2 separate regions of the Homo sapiens genome follow, and region 2 is linked to region 1. The links are contacts of gene promoters, found by promoter capture Hi-C in blood cells and fetal thymus (Javierre and others, 2016). All regions are on one chromosome and are shown on one strand. The core of a region is centred on a gene start or on the middle of the fragment in contact, and the rest is flanking DNA. Distances in the headings are between cores, read along the strand shown.

Evidence for each region. Contacts are between HindIII fragments. The CHiCAGO score rates a contact against its expected background, and 5 or more counts as called.
Region 2: a fragment that was not itself captured here is called in contact with the fragment with the promoter of OR8B4 in region 1 in 3 of 17 cell types (M1 macrophages, M2 macrophages and endothelial precursors); the score reaches 6.7 in M1 macrophages.

The regions. Positions count from the first base shown.
Region 1 is chr11:124,419,458-124,426,716 of GRCh38, reverse strand. OR8B4 (olfactory receptor family 8 subfamily B member 4) reads left to right here and starts at 1,846. Exons shown (of 1, transcript NM_001005196.1): 1 at 1,846-2,775. The coding sequence starts at 1,846. The coding sequence ends at 2,775. The HindIII fragment of the contact is 2,701 bases long and covers 684-3,384 here.
Region 2 is chr11:124,561,543-124,568,268 of GRCh38, reverse strand. No RefSeq gene overlaps it. Among named protein-coding and RNA genes, the nearest start is that of OR8A1, 5.1 kb to the left of the region's middle. The HindIII fragment of the contact is 4,648 bases long and covers 286-4,933 here.

The DNA.
Region 1 (7,259 bases), core at 597-3,096:
AGGACAACGCTGCAGTGCACAATCTTGGCATGTCTTTAGGTAAATATGCCTACTTACTTTTAGTTAGTATACACAATTTGTTGTCCAAGTCCAGACACTTCTGAGAGTGAAAGGGTATGCTATTAATAATTATACAGAGATAATGAGTGTAAGTCAGGACTGTCCCAGGCGAACTGGGATTATTTTAGGTAGCCTTAGTGAAACTTACAAATGCAGATGCTCCCATGTCTTTGAATTTTTCTTAAAATATTCATCTAGCAGATCATATGGAGAGCAGCTTTGTCATCTGAATAATGGCAGGATTAGACCCTTACATCCATCTCCCATTATACCTTAAGCCTGCATGCCTAGAGAGTAACTCTGTGTAGGGGTGTGTGTGTGTGTGTGTGTGTGTGTGTGTGTGTGTGTGTGTGCTTTCTAGCATATGTGTTGTGATATTTTAATCTCTTCATATATAGTAAAGGCCTGTCTGCGGCCCTTATTAGAGCTGCGAGTAGGTGGTGTTTGTGGTGGAGGTGGTGTGGTTTCTGTTCTGAGCAGCGCATGGTCCAAGAAGCCTTTTATCTGAGGTGCTCTCTGTAGATCTGATCTGACCTTTTCTGAGGGGTCCTACTCTCATAGCTCCCTGTGAAGATTTGGAGATGGTGGCTTAGGTTGGGGCTATTCACTCTTAAATTCAAGCTTAGGCTCTGAGAGTTAATGAGAAAGGAAAAAATGAGTCCCCAAACTCAGCACTGAATAACATGAAATCCCTGGAGTAGAGGGAAAGTTTGAGTGGAACCCCCACTCCCAAGATGCTAGGTAAGCACCGTTATCCAGGCTGTAAACAAAGACAGTGCAATTCCTTCCCTATAGAGACAGATCTTGGAGAAATTCCCAGGGGAAACTGTGTCTAATCAGGTCCCTGAGATCGTCAAGCAGCTTAAATTCCTCTGTGATATGACAGCTGGGGTTCTGGTCAAAATGAGAGTTCCTAGTTTTTTTTCCTGAAGTTGTCAAGACCACCTGGGAAAATCCACAAACAGAAACCATGGTCTATTCCTTGAGCACCTTGGAGCCTGGGGTCTGTAAAAGCTCTGATTCTCAGCACCAAGGGAGTCAAAAGAGGTAATACGCAAGGCTGTGTGCTTTCTGCACAAGCAGCACCATTTTCTCTTTCTGGCTAATGGAAAAAGAGATGGCGTAAGGCCCAGCACTGAGTGGGGCCCGGGAGAAGGAAGGTGAAGGTCCGAATCCTGTCTTTCCTGATGGTCTCTTTGAAACCCACAACCAAGGGCTCTGGGAAGTATGGATCCCGTCTCTGCTCTCAACACTGACCCTGAGGTGAGATGGAATGGAGGGTCTTCGAGGAGGCGGGTGGGATGTAAAGAGCCAGCAGGTAACACTCTTGGCTTTCTCTCCAGATGGAAATCCACTATCTAGTTGGGAGACGGAGGCAGAGAATGGGAGGGCATCCTGGTGACCTTGAGAGCTCTGGTCTCTCAGCTCTTGAGGCAGCGGCCCAGGTTGTACTCTTGGTTCTCAGGGTGTCTTTCTGAGAGTCCCTGGGCAGCCAATTCAGGTGTGTTGTCTCCCTCGTCATCTCTCAAGCAGAGACGGAATTCTTGCTGCCCATGGTAACAGATGCTAGCTTGAATTCATGATCGGCCCAGCAGAGCTGAGATCCTCTCACAGACACGTTGTTAATACCTCAGGGTGGGGAGGTGTGTAGATGAGGGAGGATGGAAGAGAGGGCATCTGCACACTGGCTGGTCCACTAGAGTCTTCTTCCCTTAGCCATGCTTGTGCCTGTCATGACTCTTTGTGTTTTGCCCTCTGCTTCCCCAGACAGCTCGCCAAGAGAGAATGACTCTGAGAAACAGCTCCTCAGTGACTGAGTTTATCCTTGTGGGATTATCAGAACAGCCAGAGCTCCAGCTCCCTCTTTTCCTTCTATTCTTAGGGATCTATGTGTTCACTGTGGTGGGCAACTTGGGCTTGATCACCTTAATTGGGATAAATCCTAGCCTTCACACCCCCATGTACTTTTTCCTCTTCAACTTGTCCTTTATAGATCTCTGTTATTCCTGTGTGTTTACCCCCAAAATGCTGAATGACTTTGTTTCAGAAAGTATCATCTCTTATGTGGGATGTATGACTCAGCTATTTTTCTTCTGTTTCTTTGTCAATTCTGAGTGCTATGTGTTGGTATCAATGGCCTATGATCGCTATGTGGCCATCTGCAACCCCCTGCTCTACATGGTCACCATGTCCCCAAGGGTCTGCTTTCTGCTGATGTTTGGTTCCTATGTGGTAGGGTTTGCTGGGGCCATGGCCCACACTGGAAGCATGCTGCGACTGACCTTCTGTGATTCCAACGTCATTGACCATTATCTGTGTGACGTTCTCCCCCTCTTGCAGCTCTCCTGCACCAGCACCCATGTCAGTGAGCTGGTATTTTTCATTGTTGTTGGAGTAATCACCATGCTATCCAGCATAAGCATCGTCATCTCTTACGCTTTGATACTCTCCAACATCCTCTGTATTCCTTCTGCAGAGGGCAGATCCAAAGCCTTTAGCACATGGGGCTCCCACATAATTGCTGTTGCTCTGTTTTTTGGGTCAGGGACATTCACCTACTTAACAACATCTTTTCCTGGCTCTATGAACCATGGCAGATTTGCCTCAGTCTTTTACACCAATGTGGTTCCCATGCTTAACCCTTCGATCTACAGTTTGAGGAATAAGGATGATAAACTTGCCCTGGGCAAAACCCTGAAGAGAGTGCTCTTCTAATGGGTCTCTTCATATCACTGGCAACCGATTCTCGGTAAGCATGATACTCAAGTGTCTTTCTATTTATAGGCGGAGGAATTTTAATATTTTTCCTCAAAGAGGGTCTCCTCTCCACTTTTAAAAATTGGAAATCTCTTTCCTATACTCTCCTTGAGGACTATATTATTTTGCAACAATTAAATTGGCTCACTGCCTGCAAGTTAGTGTCTATGAAATGCCTTTTGTTTACTGAACTCTGTATTAGGCCCAAGAGATGAGTAAGATGAGGCTCCATGCCTTCCATTCTTTTCTTGGTAGGCTAAATGGGTTTTTCTGAGCAAGAACGTTTCTGGCTGGAACAAGGGGCAGGTGGTGGTATAAAGGTTGAGGAGTGTTTTCTCTTTAGTTACATAAGCAGACTTATTAAAGATCAATGGTAGATACCTTGGTGCCAGTGCTAATATGATTATATATCCAGCTCTTCAGGAGGTTGCTTGGTCAGGAAGATCATAAACCCTCCTTTTCATATACATGTATGTACATAAAAGAAGCCCTCACACAAGAATTTTCTATGATCTGCTCTGTAAGGATAAATCAAATCCAAATCTTTTATTTCAAAGTTCTAAAGCTTCTGGGCCTTGGAATGGTAATCAGGGGTAAGTGATCCTGTGTAATTGGGCCAATTTCTTAGGCTCCGGAGACTCAGGCTGGAAGAAGAAACAAGGAAGAACTCCACGGATTTGCATGATCTGTAAAATGTGGCCTCTGCCTTGCTCTGGAGATACTAAGCACACTACTGGATTTTAGGAAGATTGCTTATTCTTTAAAGTGGATTTAGATTTTACAGTTCTGACAACGTGTGTGCATGTTTATATGTGTGTGTGTGTGTGTGTGTGTGTGTCTGTATGTGTATTACAGTTAATCAATATAGAATCGGAAAGAAAGAGGAGTCATATTACACGTCCCACTCTCAGGGAGTCTGGAAGGGATCTGGATTTTGAGTGCCAAAGACCACTCTGTATTACTCTGCTAAAGGTTCTGCTGTTCTACATTGAAGAGTTCAGTGCTCCAGCTCGTGGCCAGGAGACATTCTGAGGGAGAGCTGAGAGCAGGGCAGAGAAGCAACTGCAGCACAGGTCTGACCAACAGGAGACGTGAGACAAACTCTATCTATCTTCTCCAAATCTGCTAGAGGAAGATCTTTGGAGGAGAAAAACTCTGATACTTGGATTATGCTTTGATTATGATAATAATGACACTTAACAGTTACTGAACTTGCACCATGTGTTTGTGCACCATTTGAGGTACCTTAAATATATTAATTCATTCATTGGAATTGATTTAATACCTTACTCAACCACTGCTGGTCAGTCCTCTGGGCCTTGCTGAATCCCACCCTCCAGTGGACTGTCTGTGTCTAGGTCCATGGGGGTCTTGGGATATTAGAAAAGAATCAAGAATAAGGAAGGACAAAAGTAAATCTACTTTGATACGGATAAAGAAAAAAAAACAATTACCATTGGTATAAATGAGCGGGAACAAGAACTAAGTCAGGGCATAGGATATGAATGGAAAGGAACAATTATGTAATCAATGCATCAAAGTCCAAGAATAACTTTCCCTGCATTCACTCCATATTGGCACTGGGGTGAGTAGCCGTGAAAGTATGTTTGACTTAATGAGACACTGGCTTGGCTCTTTTGGAAAGAAGTTCCTTTTTGACTGAGGATCTTACATGACAAAAACTCAGAGAGACTTTTCTTGGCTCTTGTAAAGCCAAATAAGAGCATCTACTGCTTCCACAGAAAATGCAACATTAAATAAATTCAGAAGGCCTGCACTTCTGTCTCAAACCAAGGATGGGTCATCTTGCATATTGTTTTGGGTTGACGTTAAGGAATTGTTTGTTCTCACAGTGTTAAACAAATAGAAGGAGGGTTGAGGGCTGTGGCATTACAGTAACAGAGAAGTAAGTTGAAACTGAGTGTCAGATCTGTCCTAAATGAGTCCTTCTGTCACAAGACCACGACTCCATCATCTCCTCACGTCATGACGTTTTAATTTCTAGCAAGGCTACTTTTTTCTCTTTAGGAAGCATCCTTAAGGTTGAGATTCCTCTAGGTTCAGTTCTTGGTCTCCTTCTCTTCTGGGCTCTTCCTGAGGCATTTCTCTGACTCAGGTGACTTCAACAACCACGCATTTGATGGTGACTTTCAAATCTATAACTCTGACCCTGAGCTACAATCAGAATCTGTAATCAGTTGTAAACTGGAAACACGCAAGTCTTATTAACATTGATGTTCAAATAGAATTGTTTAACGATTAAGTGATGACATAGTTTTGGAGTATCAGGAGGAGTAAACTGTTGTCTCTCACATTTCTAACCATGTGGGAGAATATAGGTAAGTGACCCTCCAAGTAGGAAGAGCGAGAGTACAAGGAGAACTTCCAGTGGATCTTTGGAAGGAAAAGGACGTGGTTTCCCTGTGCTCAAGAGGCAGATGAGAGGATGTCCGTGGCAGACTCAGCGTTAACTCTTAGCTTAGATGCGTAGTGCCCTTTCTCCCCTCACACTTCCACAGCAGAAATGTATCATTTACAAACCACTTCAGCTGCTGGTAACCAAAGTCTGACTGCAGTGGCTGAAACATATAAGTGTTTATTGTCCTCCAACATAAACGGCATCCAGAGGTGGGCAGTCCAGGACTGATTTGACAGTGCTGAGTCATCAAGCACTCAGTCTCTCTCTCCATCTTTTTTCTCTTCTTTCTAGCTAGAGATTTCATTCTCAATAATGCATCATGATTTCCAGATGGCCACTAGAGCTCTTAAGATTTTGTCCATATTTCAAGCAGCAGGAAGACACAGGGGTAAGCATAAGCAAATGGGTACTTTACCTATTTAACGTATGACTGCTACTGACAAGTTATTAACTATCCCTACCTGCAAAGGAGGCTGAGAAACTTAGCATTTCACTTGATAGCATTATCATCCTTAAACAACAGAATTTTGTTGCTAAGGAAGAAGGTGCTAACATGGCTATTGTGCAGACAACTAGCAGTATCCACCAAAGGATAGAATACCACTTGCCAGGAGGGAACAATTTAGAAGTGAATACACTCTATCCATATTTTTGCTTTCTTACTTTGTCCACTCTGTGAGAGAAGGTTAGATTAATTGGACAGGTAAGATTGAAAAAGACTGACAAGTTGGTCATTGATGGAAATGTGCCCAGTGTCTTCATCACCAAACTATTGGTACTAACGTAAGGCAAGCTCATGGTGAGGACAAGCCAGAATCTGTGCTATTTCAATCCTAACCTCTACTGCTGTCTCCTACTGGGTTAAGTTAGAGTCCGGGTTCTGAGAGGGAGGTGCGAGTCCTGACATCTTTGCCTCTTCAGCATGGCTATGAATAAAGATGCAATGGTATTTTCATCCTCTTTTGGCTCCAGTCATTCTCACTAATTAGACCCACAGGAAAGGGGGAGTGAGTGATTAATATTGCCAAATTTCCCACATTAGAGCTGTCTCTGCACTTTTAGCACAAGGACTTCTGGTAATTGAAGCTCTCATTTTCTTATGATTTGAAATGACCCCTCTTGCTCTGGTAGTGGGTTATTGGAAACCATATGAAAAATAGAGTGTCTGAGAGGACACAAAGTGCAACTCAAATAGGGCTCTACTCGTTAATTTTAGGTGTCAACTTGACTGAATTAAGGAACACCTAGGGAACTGCTGGGTGTGTGAGTGTGAGGGTGTTTCCAGAGGAGGCTGGCATGTGAGTCAGTGGACCCAGTGGGGAAAACCTGCCCTCAATGTGAGTGGGCATCATTCAGTCGGCTGGGGGCCCAGACAGAACAGAAAACGCAGAGAAAAGGATTTCCTCTCTCTCTTGGAGCTGGGAAACTGTTCTCCAGTCCTTGGATATCAGAACTGCAAACTCTTTGGCTTTGGGACTCCAGGACAAACTCCAGTGGTCCCTGGATTCTCAGGTCTTTGGGCTTGGACTGAGAGTTAACCCATTGGCTTTCCTGGTTCTGAGGTTTTCACACTTGGACTGATCCACACTGCTGACATCTCAGAATCTCCAGCTTGCAGACAGCTTGTCATAGAAATTCTCAGCCTCCATAATCATTTGAGCCATTTTCCCTAATAAATCCCCTCTCATCTATCTATCTATATCTATATCTAATCTATATTTATATCTCTGAGCTATCTAATCCAGTTGATTCTTTCTCTCTGGAGAACCATGAGTAAAATACAAGGGCCATGGAAGGAGGGCTCATTGTCAGCTAATAGGGAAATTTGACAGGAAAATTTAGGCTAGATGACTCACAATTTCACAGAATAGCATGTGGAAGACATGAACAGAAAATGGTGTTCCAGTTGATGGCAAATAGGGTTTGGTACTATCTGTGATTTCAGGTATCTACTGGAGACTTAGAATATATCCCCTAAGAATAAGGGGGTACTGTGTATTAAATGACACCCATGTGAGGCAAT
Region 2 (6,726 bases), core at 1,360-3,859, 140 kb before region 1:
AAGCAAAAATTTAAAACAACCATTTTCCACCACTTGGAACCAAACGGTGGTAGTGAATATCCTTCTAGACTTTTCCTATGCATATATGTATTTACATGTATATAAATATATATGTATTTTTACAAAAACATTTGTAATCTGCTTTTTAAACATAGCATTCACAAATGTATTGTCTCATTTGATTCCTATAACTGGCACTAACTGTATTCTTTTTTCTTAGAAGTAAGAGTCTTTAAAATCATTAGGACGTGGTGTGAAGACAAAGTCTGAATTGCATTGTAAGCTTTTATATCAAATTATTGGTAATGAGGCATTTAACTTTACAATAACTAGTATGAGAGGTAGCTAAGATTTTTAAAATTCACGTTAAGCATTCCCAATCTGAAAACTCAAAGTCCAAAATCTGAAACTTGTTGAGGGCCAACATGAACCACAAGTGGAAAATTCCACACCTCCTCTCATGTGACTAGTCTCAGTGAAAATACAGTCAAAACTGTTTCATGCACAAAATTATTAAAAATATGGTATAAAATTACCTTCAGCCTATGTGTATAAGATGTATATGAAGCATATATAAATTTCATGTTTAGACTTGGATCTCATCCTCAAGATATCTCATTATGTATATACAAACATTCTAAAACCGGAAAAAAATTCGAAATTCAAGACATTTCTAGTCCCAAGCATTGTGCATAAGGAGTTATTCCCATTTATTACAATGGAAATAGAAATGTATTATTTTCATTTATCACAAAGAAGAATTTTTTTCTAAATAACAACAGTAGATTTAAAAAGTTTTACATATCCTTTTTTACCCAATGTCTGCCTCTTAAAATGAAAGGAAACACCCAACTTGAATAACTATAACTGTAGATCGTGTGCTTTACAAAGCAGTGTGGAATGAACACTGTTCACTGAGTGCACAGCAGGTGGGAACACCATTGTGTAGGAGAACGCTAGACAGCACTGATTTAACGTTTCACTCTCATAGTCTTCTAATAACATGAAAGAGGCAAATATAAACCACGTATTTCTTTTACTTTCCTGTTTTTCCTCTTTTTTAAAGACAGAGTCTCATTCTGTTGCTTAGGTTTGAATGCAGTGGTACGATCATGGCTCACTGTAACCTTGAACTCCCAAGCTCAAGCAAGCATCTCACCTCAGCCTCATGAGTAGCTGGGACTACAGGTGTATGCTACCATGCTGGGCTACTTTTTAAAATTTTGGCTACAGATGGGATCTCTCTGTGTTGCCCAGGCTGGTCTCCAACTCCTGGCCTCAAGCAATTCTCCTCTCTTGGTCCTCTAAAGCTCTAAGACTACAGGTGTGAGCCACTGTGCCTGGCCAAACCATATATTTTATATTAGTTACTACAATTATTACCTTTAGTTTCACTAAGCCATAAGAGCCTTAGGATAACTGCCAATGAGAACACAGCACACAGATTAAAAAAGCACATAGTGGTGAAAGTAAATATATGGTTGTAAATAGTCTGCATCACAAACAAGAGTTCATGGAAGAAATATTTTTCTCAGGCAATTGCTTTAAGTTTGTAATTAAATACCTGTGATGAGGAAAAATAAAGCACAGTCTGCTGGAAACTTTAAGGGCTGCCTTGGTTTCAACAATCAGAAAATGCAGGAACCATACTGATTTATACTGAGTCCTACATTTACTCAAATTCATTAAAAAATGGATCACTAAGACTGGGGGCTTGGGATTGTGTTTACGAATATGTGGGCACAATATTTCCTGGGCTATAATCACTTGAGAGGCTGGGGTTCTCACTAACAGAGCAATTAGAGCCTTGCTTTACACTGGCTCTGAGAAACATGCTTTGTCTCCCAGGTGTGTTAATTTTCCTGTTATTGGTAGAGTGATCTTGCAGCTAGGGAAACTTACAGTCTAATGCCAGCTTTGGAATATTTTACTATCAACAGTCCCATTACTATTGTCACAATCGTCATGATTATGATCATTATGTCCATCATCACCACAACCACCTCACTCATTGCCATCAACACCATCATCAGTTACTACCACTATGGTTGTTACTTATTATTCATGATTATGCACAATTGACTAGCTTTAAAATGTTTATTATAATGTGTTTTAAAAACAAATTCAATTTTTTAAAAAACAAGCTGTATACTTTTAGTAAAGGAATGTTACGTTCCTTACATTTATAAGGGAATGCTGAATTTGGCACCCTGCTGCTGCACCAAGTAAACTGACAGTATAGAATGACAGGAGGTTCAGGAGCATGTGAAGGTGGACTAAAAGAACTCTTCATTCATACAGGCTCATTCATAAGAGAAGTGTGTTCATAAGGAAATTTCCTATTCAAGAACATATTCAGTATTTTGTTATCCATGAATATATTGCAATGAAGATTTTTAAATTAAACTTTTTATTTTGAGATAATTGTAGTTTCATATGTTATTGCAGGAAATAATGAAGAAAGATTCTTTGCTGTCTATTTTATGCCATTTTCCTTCAGTGGTAACATCTTGCAAAATGATTGTACAATATCATACCCAGGATTATTGACATTGATACAATTCACGGATTTTATTCAGACTTCCCCAGTTTTACTTACACTCATCTGTGCATGTATTTAGTTCTACGAAATTTTATCAAACACATAGTCTTGTGTATCTGATACCACAGATAATGTAAAAACACATCACCTGCGTTTTCTAAGTTTCAAAACAATAACTTGATATCCTGTTATACTCCAAAGGTGACCAGTTATTTTTCTTTATTATAAACTCACCACTGTAAACACATTTTATGTGTAAAATAAGTGTAACGGATAACGAAGTTAACTTATTGCAGTTATTTTTGTTGATCACATTTTTCTATCTTTGGCCTGTAGAATTCTCTTCAGTTTGTCTCCGGTGTCTTTGACATGGTGTTAGTAGTTTCTAGTATTATGCCTTCCTTGCTATCTTATATGACAAGATGTTATGAACTCATTTCTGCTGGGAGCAAGTCCCTCAAAGTCTGGTCATAAACTGCCCCCAAAACTGGCCATGAATAAAATCTCTGCAGCAATGTAACATGTCCACAATGGCCATAACGCCCAAGCTGGAAGGTTGTGGGTTTGCGGGAATGAGGGCAAGGAACACCTGGCCCGCCCGGGGCGGAAAACCGCTTAAAGGCATTCTTAAGCCACAAACAAAAGTCTGAGCGATCTGTGTCTTAAGGACGTGTTCCTGCTGCAATTAATTCGGCCCATCCCTTCGTTTCCCTTAAGGGATACTTTTAATTAATTTAATATCTATAGAAACAATGCTAATGACTGGTTTGTTGTTAATAAATACGTGGGTAAATCTCTGTTCGGGGCTCTCAGCTCTGAAGGCTGTGAGACCCCTGATTTCCCACTTCACACCTCTATATTTCTGTGTGCATGTCTTTAATTCCTGTAGCGCTGCTGGGTTAGGGTCTCTCGGACCGAGCTGGTCTCGGCACATTTCATACATTTAATTCCTCAGACCTGGAAATCAACCATTTCTCCTAGAAATTTGATTTCTTTTAGCAGGGAAATGATATTTCAAGAACACAAATTAGGTGCTAGAGAGGCTCATTGCTCTTGGCTTAGCCATTGCTTTTAGGTCTTTTCAAGCAGAACTAGGAACTGTAGGACTACATAGTTATCAAAGTGTGTTTTTTTTTTTTTTGAAGTCCAATAATCTTACTAGGATATATTTTAATGTTCATTCTGAGACAATTTTCTTAGGTGTGATGTTTCTTTTAACATGTTACTTTAAATCTATTGTTTTAATGCCAGAAAGTTTCTTGAATTACAGTTTTTATTACTTGTTCTATTGGTTTAGATTTCTCTGTTGAGGCTCCTACTCTATGCCAGTTGCCAGCTAGATCTTTACCTAGTGTCTACATTTGTTACTTTCCCCCAAATCCTCTTCATTTCATTTTTTCTCCCTTGTTTTCACCTTTGATTTCTCCTAAGGCACTATCTGTTGTGTTTATTTTATTTTGGTTACTCCTAGTTCAGTCTCAATTTCTGAAACTTTTTTATTTCTAACAATTTCCTGAGTCTTATTGCTTAATTTATAATTTTTTACTAATGCTGAGTTTTATTATTTGTTTGTCAGCATGTCTTTGTAGCTTGCTCTATATTTTCTGTAGAAAATCATTCTTCTTTCTTATAATAATAATAATAATAACTTTATATGGGATTTACCTTGATTCTTTTCTATTCATTTTAATATCAAATTAGTTTTTTCCTAATTTCACACATGTGGAACCTCTTCTTTGTTTTTTCTGTGAAGTGCTGAAAATATGATGCCTTACCACCTGAGATCTCTTGGTTCTGCCCCTTTTCTGCTTTTATCTGGATTGTTTCTTTCTTTTGTCTCTAATGTTTCTATTCTGCTTAGTTTGGGTTTTATTCCTTCCAGTTTATTCTTGTAGGGAGTTTTGGTTGGTTCGTTTTGAGAGTTCATGGTATCCAAACTTCTGCACCACTTCAGATCATACACCATTAAGGAAATGAAAAGGTGAGACACAGATTGGGAAAAAATATTCAATGCATATATCAAAAGATTTATTTTAGGAGATAAAACAAGTCTCTTACAAATCATCTAAAGACAAACAACCCAATTAAAATTGACTCCAAAATTTAGATAGTTACCTCATAAAAGAAGATACGCAAATGGTCAAGAAATACATGAAAAGATGCTCAGTATCATTAAACATCAGGTAAATGCAAATTAAAAACACACTGGCATAACACTATATACCCACTAGAAATGTTAAAAATTTAAAAATCTGACAATATCAAGTTTTGTTGAGGATGTAGAGCAACTGGACCTTTCCTACATTGCTGTTGGGAATGTACAATTGAATAACTTCTCTATAAAGTGGTGCTATGATTTGAGTGTCCCGGACAAAACTCATGATGGAAGCTTAATTCCCAGTGCACCAATGTAGAGAAGTGAAACTCTTAAGAGGTGGGGCTTGCTGGGAAGCATTTGGGTCATGAGGTCTCACCTTTATGGGCAGCTTGGTGCTGTTCTTATGGTAGTGAGTTCTTGCTCACAAGAATGAGCCCTCACCAGAAACCAAGCAGACTGCAGCACCATGCTCTTGGACTTTCAGACTCTGGAATCATGAGCCAAATAAACCTCTTTCCTCTATAAATTACCCAGCTTCAGGTATTCTGTTACAGCAACACAAAACAGACTGAAACAAATGGTTTGGCAGTTTTTATAAAGTTAAACTTGCCTATGACCCAACAATTCTAACATTAGGTATTTATCCAAGAGAAATGAAAATACACACTTACAAAATGTTTTGTACATGAATGCTTATATATGCTTTATTCATAAAAGCCTGAACCGGAAACAGTTTAACTGTCTATGAACAAGTAAATGGATAAACAAGTTTGTGAAAATAATCATACATCAGATTACTACTCATCAATACAAAGGAATGTACTACTGCTATACTCAACAATATGGATGAATCTCAAAACGATTAGACTGGGCAAAAGATGCCAGACACAAAGGAGTACATACTGTAGGATTTCACCTGTATAAAATTTTACATCAGGCAAAATAAATCAATAATGATAAATAGCAAGTCAGTGGTTGCCTGGGGCTCAGGGACAGTGGAGGGATTGAATGCAGAGGTGCGTTAGGGAGCTTTGTGTGGTAATGGACATGTTCACATACAATAGGCGCATTTTGCATGGTATTTAATAATTTACTGTACTTAAATCTATAAAGTAGATTTAAAATGAAAAAAATAGATATGGTCAACAAAACATGTCCAATATTCAGCACCACTAGTAATCAAAGAAATATGATCAAAATATGTCATTTTCAGAATCAAATTGGATTGAGAAGTTTTTTGAATGATAATATCCACTGTAAGTTAAGGTGTGGGGAAAAAGGTACTCTCATATATTACCTATGGGGTGTGTATAGGTAAACTGTTTACTCCAGCTGAACCCATGGCTGGAGTCACCAATGCTCACCATCACTGGCCATCAAAGAAATGCAAATCAAAAGCACAATGAGATACCATCTCACACCAGTTAGAATGGCAATCATTAAAAAGTCAGGAAACAACAGGTGCTGGAGAGGACGTGGAGAAATAGGAACACTTTTACACAGTTGGTGGACTGTAAACTAGTTCAACCATTGTGGAAGTCAGTGTGGCCATTCCTCAGGGATCTAGAACTAGAAATACCATTTGACCCAGCCATCCCATTACTGGGTATATACCCAAAGGACTATAAATCATGCTGCTATAAAGACACACGCACACGTATGTTTATTGCGGCACTATTCAGAATAGCAAAGACTTGCAACCAACCCAAATGTCCAACAATGATAGACTGGATTAAGAAAATGTGGCACATATACACCATGGAATGCTATACAGCCATACAAAATGATGAGTTCATGTCCTTTGTAGGGACATGGATGAAATTGGAAATCATCATTCTCAGTAAACTATCACAAGAACAAAAAACCAAACACTGCATATTCTCACTCATAGGTGGGAATTGAACAATGAGAACACATGGACACAGGAAGGGGAACATCACACTCTGGGGACTGTTGTGGGGTGGGGGTAGGGGGGAGGGATAGCATTAGGAGATATACCTAATGCTAAATGACGAGTTGGTGGGTGCAGCACACCAGCATGGCGCATGTATACATATGTAACTAGCCTGCACATTGTGCACATGTA